Linked DNA regions of Homo sapiens: region 2 is linked to region 1. Evidence: promoter capture Hi-C in human tissues and cell types (Jung and others, 2019). All regions are on one chromosome and are shown on one strand. The core of a region is centred on a gene start or on the middle of the fragment in contact, and the rest is flanking DNA. Distances in the headings are between cores, read along the strand shown.

Region 1 (2,906 bases), core at 221-2,720:
GTGTCCAAGCCCCACCTCTGGCGTTAAGTCCTGACTCCTACCTGTTTCACCATCACTGCAGTTTTAAGAGTAACGAATTTGGGTCCCCTGGTGAAGTGGCCAGAGGCAGAGCTTCTGTGTGAACTATTTGGAGGGGAGGGGAAAGAACTCTCCCAGACTGCAGGTTCTGAAAGGAATACAGAGATGTCAGAGACTGCAGTTGCAAGAGAAAGCTTTTATAGGAGGGTGTAGAATTAAAGGACAAGAGGACTCTACATGTGGATGGAGGAGGGCACCCTGTCCGGCAGTACTGCAAGAGCAAAAGTTTGGAGGTGGGAGTGAGGTGAGTGCGTCTGCCGGCCAGAATTCTTGGGCCAGGGTGAGCAGAAAGGTTGGAGGCCAAGGGAAGGTGGGTGGTGGTGAACCTTATCCTGAAGTGTGCAAGGTGACAGTCAGAAGCTTAGAACTCCAGCCACGGGCCCTGCATGTGGCCTCCTAGCTGTAGTCTGTCCACCGAGATCGTGAGGATGCTGGTGGTTGAAAGAACTGCACCTCTGAGCAGGTGAAGAGAGAAGCTAAGGAGGGGTGATGGCAGAGGCGATGGGACAGGCTTTCTAACGATGAGGGGCTGGGGATCAACGCTCTCACGGAAGCTAAAAGAGCCCCAGCAACCACCCGCCTGGGCCCTGAGCTCTCTCCAAAGCGGGAGGGGATTCACTAAGAGGTTGCTCCCCTGGCATTGAACTCAGCATCCTATACTGGTCCTCACCATGAAGACCCCCAAGAGTGCTTCAGACCATTGCTTCTCACATTCTCTGTATAAAGACACTAATTTGTTTTTAGATTTCCAAGCATGTCACGGACCAATATGTTTGTTAAATATACTAAGAATGAATTGCTAGAAAGATGAAATTAAAAAGACATACACCGCCAGGTGCAGTGGCTCACGCCCATAATCTCACCACTTTGGGAGGCGGAGGTAGGTGCATCGCTTGAGCCCAGGAGTTCAAGATCAGCCTAGGCAACAAAGTGAGACCCCCGTATCTACAAAACTTAAAAAATTAGCCAGGTGTGGTGGCGCAGTCTGTAGTCCCAGCTATTCTGGAGGCCGAAGTGGGAGGATCGCTTGAGGCTGCAGTGAGCCGAGATCGCACCACTGCACTCCAGCCTGGGTGATAGAGTGAGACTCTGTCTCCAAAAAAAAAAAGGACATACATCATGCAAGTTTGGATTTTTGTTTTTAGATTCAACTGACGAAGTTACGGGATCAAACTGCTGTAGGAGCTGCCAAACGCTTCTCTCCATTTCTGGCCGCGGGGCCGCGGACCGCCCTTTAAGTAGCCCGTTTTATCCCTGGCAGAGGTGGAGCCTTAGGCAGGCCTAGAGACTTTCCCGGGTCCTCCAGGCCGGGGAACGCCCCGCTCGGAGGCCGGGCTTGGGCGGAGACTGCGCCGGGGCTGCTGAAAACTAGCCGAGGAGAGCCAGGGAGCCGGAGAGATCGCGCGCCTGCCGCCGCCGGAGCCTGCGAGCCGAGACCGTAAGCGCCCGGGGCCGGCCGGGCCCGCACTCCCCGGACGCAGACGCGGTTCGGGCTCCGCGCGGGCTCGGCCGCCGGGGTGGGCGGCGGGCCGGGGCGCCGAGGGGTCGGGGCTGCGGTCGGCCCGCAGGGGTGCAGAGGGACTTGTAGTTGGTCCGCCCCCAGCTCCTGCCCCGGCCAGGAGACTGCGCGTGCCGCCTACTGGGGGAAGGAGCCTGCAGGCGACCGCGGACTTCTCGCAGGGAATTCCGCGTCCCAGACTGTGGGCGGACGCCGCAGGGAGGGAGGCTCGCGACCCCGAGAGCGCACCGCGTCCCCTGGCCTGGGCGAGCTCTGCTTCCAGGGCCGTGGCTCGCTCGGCGGTGAAATGCACTTAATTTGTCACCCAAGTCGGAACACTGATTTTCATGCGCGTCCGTGTGAAGAGACCACCAAACAGGCTTTGTGTGAGCAACATGGCTGTTTATTTCACCTGGGTGCAGGCGGGCTGAGTCCGAAAAGAGTCAGCCAAGGGAGATAGGGGTGGGGCCGTTTTATAGGATTTGGGTAGGTAAAGGAAAATTACAGTCAAAGGGGGGTTCTCTGGCGGGCAGAGTGGGGGGGGTCACAAGGTGCTCAGTAGGGGAGCTTTTGAGCCAGGATGAGCCAGGAGAAGGAATTTCACAAGACAATGTCATCAGTTAAGGCAGGAACAGGTCATTTTCACTTTTGTGGTGGAATGACATCAGTTAAGGCAGGAACCGGCCATCTGGATGTGTAGGTGCAGGCCACAGGGGATATGATGGCTTAGCTTCGGCTCAGAGGCCTGACACTGATCACACCTTTTAGTTGAAATGCGCTTTCATCTCCATCTGCTGCCGCAGCCGCCGCCCGGCACCCCCTCGCTCTGGTCTCGGGATTGAAGGCCAGCCCTCTCCTCTTGTAGAACAGGAAACTTGCCCGGGAGTTCACCTTGTAGTTGAAGCCAGGGAATGTGGTCAACCTGAGCAAAAGCGCCGCGGAGACCGAGTGGCCGCCTGCCTCCCTCCCTGGCAGATGTCGGTTTTCTCTGAGCTTCTGGCTCCTTCCTTGCCCTGGCGGCTCCCGAGATCTTGGAGGTGGGGTGCCTAGCAATGTTGTAATCCTAATTTTGACTTTTTTTTCTTAAAGTTGAATGCCCCCTCCATAGCCCACCTCCCATTGTTTAAACTTCAGGTTCCGCAAAGCCTGGATCCGCCCCTACAGGCAACACTCGTTGTCCTGGAAGTTCTGTGAGGGCTCAGCTTGTGGCTGGAGGTGGGAGGTGAGGGGGACCCATGCACTTGGCAGGCCCGCTTCCAGGACAGCCCTTTGCTGGGATTGATGAGCTGTTGGTGGAAAATTGTTGAGGACCTTGGGGTTGGTGGCTGTT
Region 2 (2,906 bases), core at 184-2,683, 150 kb after region 1:
TTTTTTAAATAATCAGAAAAAAAGAATTTTTATTCTATTTTATTTTTAATGCACAAACTCTGAAGTCTCGACAGATAAATTCTGCCAATAACCTACCTCACCTACCTACTTAGAAGCTTAGGCAAGTTATTTAACCACTCGGACACTCCGTTTGATCAACCATGAGATGTGAGAACATCAACTCCATGAAGTGTGGGGATGGAGAATGAAGCAAGGCACCAGAACCTGTGGTCCAGACCCCACCCGCCACATCCCCTAGAGGGGATGTCTAGGGGAAGAGTCCTATCCTCCCTTGGGATGTCTTAGAATTTTTAGTTTCCTTTCTTTCCTTCCTTTCTTTCTTTCCTTCTTTTCTTTTTCCTTCCTTCCTCCCTCCCTCCCTCTCTCTCTCTCTCTCTCTTTCTTTCTTTCTTAGATGGAGTCTCACTCTGTCGCCCAGGTTGGAGTGCAGTGGCGGGATCTCTGCTCACTGCAACCTCCACCTCCCGGGTTCAAGCAATTCTCCTGCCTCAGATTCCCGAGTAGCTGCGATTACAGGCATGTGCCACCATGCCCGGCTAATTTTTGTATTTCTAGTAGAGATGGGTTTTCTCCATGTTGACCAGGCTGGTCTCGAACTCCTGACCTTGTGATCCGCTCGGCTCGGTCCCCCAAAGTGCTGGGATTACAGGCGTGAGCCACAGCGCCTGGCCGGAATTTTTAGTTTCTGAAGGAAGTACTTCTTGGCTGTATAAGCTGTCTTCATAAACCCACACATTCAAAGAAATTTCCTTCTGAGCACGCCAGTGAAAGAGTATTCGTGAAAAAGGTCTTGCACACTAAAGTGGTCAAGCAATGTCCAAGGGTGGGGGATAGTTACCGGGAAGAATTGTGTGAGGTCTCTCGGGGTTCCTGTCCCACCCCAGGCTGTAGCGGGGGAAGGAGGAAAGAAGACGAAAGGGAGGACTGGGGAAAACGGACTCAGAGGACCCACCCACCTGCAGCTGCCCAGGCTCCTGGGCAGTGCCCTCCAGGAAGCACAGAAGTAGGGGCTGGAGGCGGGCTTCGGTGGACCCCGAGCCCGGGCCGGCAGCCAGCAGGGGTCGCTGCAGACATGGGAATCACGGTGCTGACCGTGCCTCTGCAGCGCTGTCTTCAGGTGCTTTTGCTGAACGGTCATATCTTCTCTAAACCCAGGGGGTGCAGAGGGTCCTCCCAGACGAAGAAACCGAGGACAGAGAGGTCAAAGGACTTGCCCAGAGTCCCTAACTGGTTAATGGAAAAACTCCTGCTCTTCTAACTTAACGTCAAGCCGGAGGATTCAGGCAGCGACTATGAGACGCCCTGTAAGAGAGGAAGGGTTAGGGCAAGAGCTTATCAAATGTTTAAAAATTATATATTTTATAATAATTCGGCCAGGCACCGTGGCTCACACCTGTAATCCCAGCTCCTTGGGAGGCTGAGACGGGCGGATCACCTGAGCTCAGGAGTTCCAGACCAGCCTGGCCTGCCTCTCCTTTCTCTGTAGTAGAGAAACTCCGTCTCTACTAAAAATTCAAAAATTAGCTGGGTGTGGTGGGTGCCTGTATTCCCACCTGGAGGTGGAGGAACGAGAATCGCTTGAACCCGGGAGGCGGAGGTTGCAGTAGGCCGAGATCGCGCCATTGCACTCCAATCTGGGCGACAAAGTGAGACTCTGCCTCAAAAATAATAATGGTAGTAATAATAATAATAAAATTAAAAATTAAAAAAAATCTTGAGCAATGAAATGAGTGTATTTGTTTCCCAGAATCCTCAGCAGTACAGGGAAGTTTCAAAATTAGCTTTCTTGTTTTGTTACCGGTATAACAGCTATAATATGACTTCTCAGTATTGATTTAGGCTATTCTTATTTACAAAAACTTGGTAATTAAACTATATTAAATTTAAGAAGTCCTGTTCCTCAAAAGACACCAATAAGAATGAAAATTCAAGCCAGAGTGTGGGAGAAGATATTCATAATTCATATACCCGACAAAGGACTTGAATCCAGAATATAGAAAAACTTGCTAAAAGTCAATAAGAGGCTGGGCGCAGTGGCTCACGCCTGTAATCCCAGCACTTTGGGAGGCCGAGGTGAGCGGATCACCTGAGGTCAGAAGTTCGAGACCAGCCTGACCAATATGGTGAAACCCCATCTCTACTAGAAATACAAAAATTACGCAGGCATAGTCATGGGCCCCTGTAATCCCAGCTACTCAGGAGTCTGAGGTAGGAGAATCTCTTGAACCCAGGAGGCAGAGGTTGCAGTGAGCTGAGATCGCACTACTGCAACAGAGCGAGACTCCATCTCAAAAAAAAAAAGAAAAAAAGTCAATAAGAAAAGGACAGTCAGACAATTCAATGAAAAAAATGGCAAAAAAAAAACCTCACAAAATGGGCAAAAGACTAGAATAGGCACATGGTAGAAGAGGATATCCACGTGGCCAATCAACAGGAAAAAATGCTTGGCTTCATTAGTCATCAGGGAAATGCAAGTTAATACGTGATGTGGCCGGGCACGGTGGCTCATGCCTCTATTCTCAGTGCTTTGGGAGGCTGAGGCGGGAGGATTGCTTGAGCCCTTCAAGACCAGCTTGGGCAACATAGTGAGATGAAATCTCTAATCACACACAAACTCACACACTCCCACTGTAATAAATATATATATATATATATATATAAAGCCGAGACCAAGATGGTTGTGAGACTTGGCGCCTTCCTCAAGAACTCCTGGGCCAAGGAGCCAGTGCTGGTGGTCTCCTTCGTCATCGGGAGCCTCACTGTAATTCTGCCCCCACTCAGCCCCTACACCAAGTATTCCATCATGATCAATGAGGCCACACCCTACAACTATCCAGTGCCCGTCCACGATGATGGGAACATGCGGACATGTGCAGCCACCCCCA

The links. The method cuts DNA at HindIII sites, captures the fragments that hold promoters and counts their contacts. A contact is called where the count stands out against the background at its distance.
Region 2: a contact is called between a fragment that was not itself captured here and the fragment with the promoter of EPHX1 in region 1, in 1 of the 25 tissues and cell types used here (psoas muscle).

Annotation. Positions count from the first base shown.
Region 1 is chr1:225,808,654-225,811,559 of GRCh38, forward strand. It overlaps EPHX1 (epoxide hydrolase 1), which reads left to right and starts at 1,471. Exons shown (of 9, transcript NM_001136018.4): 1 at 1,471-1,516. RefSeq lists a silencer at 1,429-1,648. The HindIII fragment of the contact is 8,152 bases long and covers 1-2,906 here.
Region 2 is chr1:225,961,486-225,964,391 of GRCh38, forward strand. It overlaps the pseudogene NDUFA3P3. Among named protein-coding and RNA genes, the nearest start is that of LEFTY2, 22 kb to the left of the region's middle. The HindIII fragment of the contact is 6,601 bases long and covers 1-2,906 here.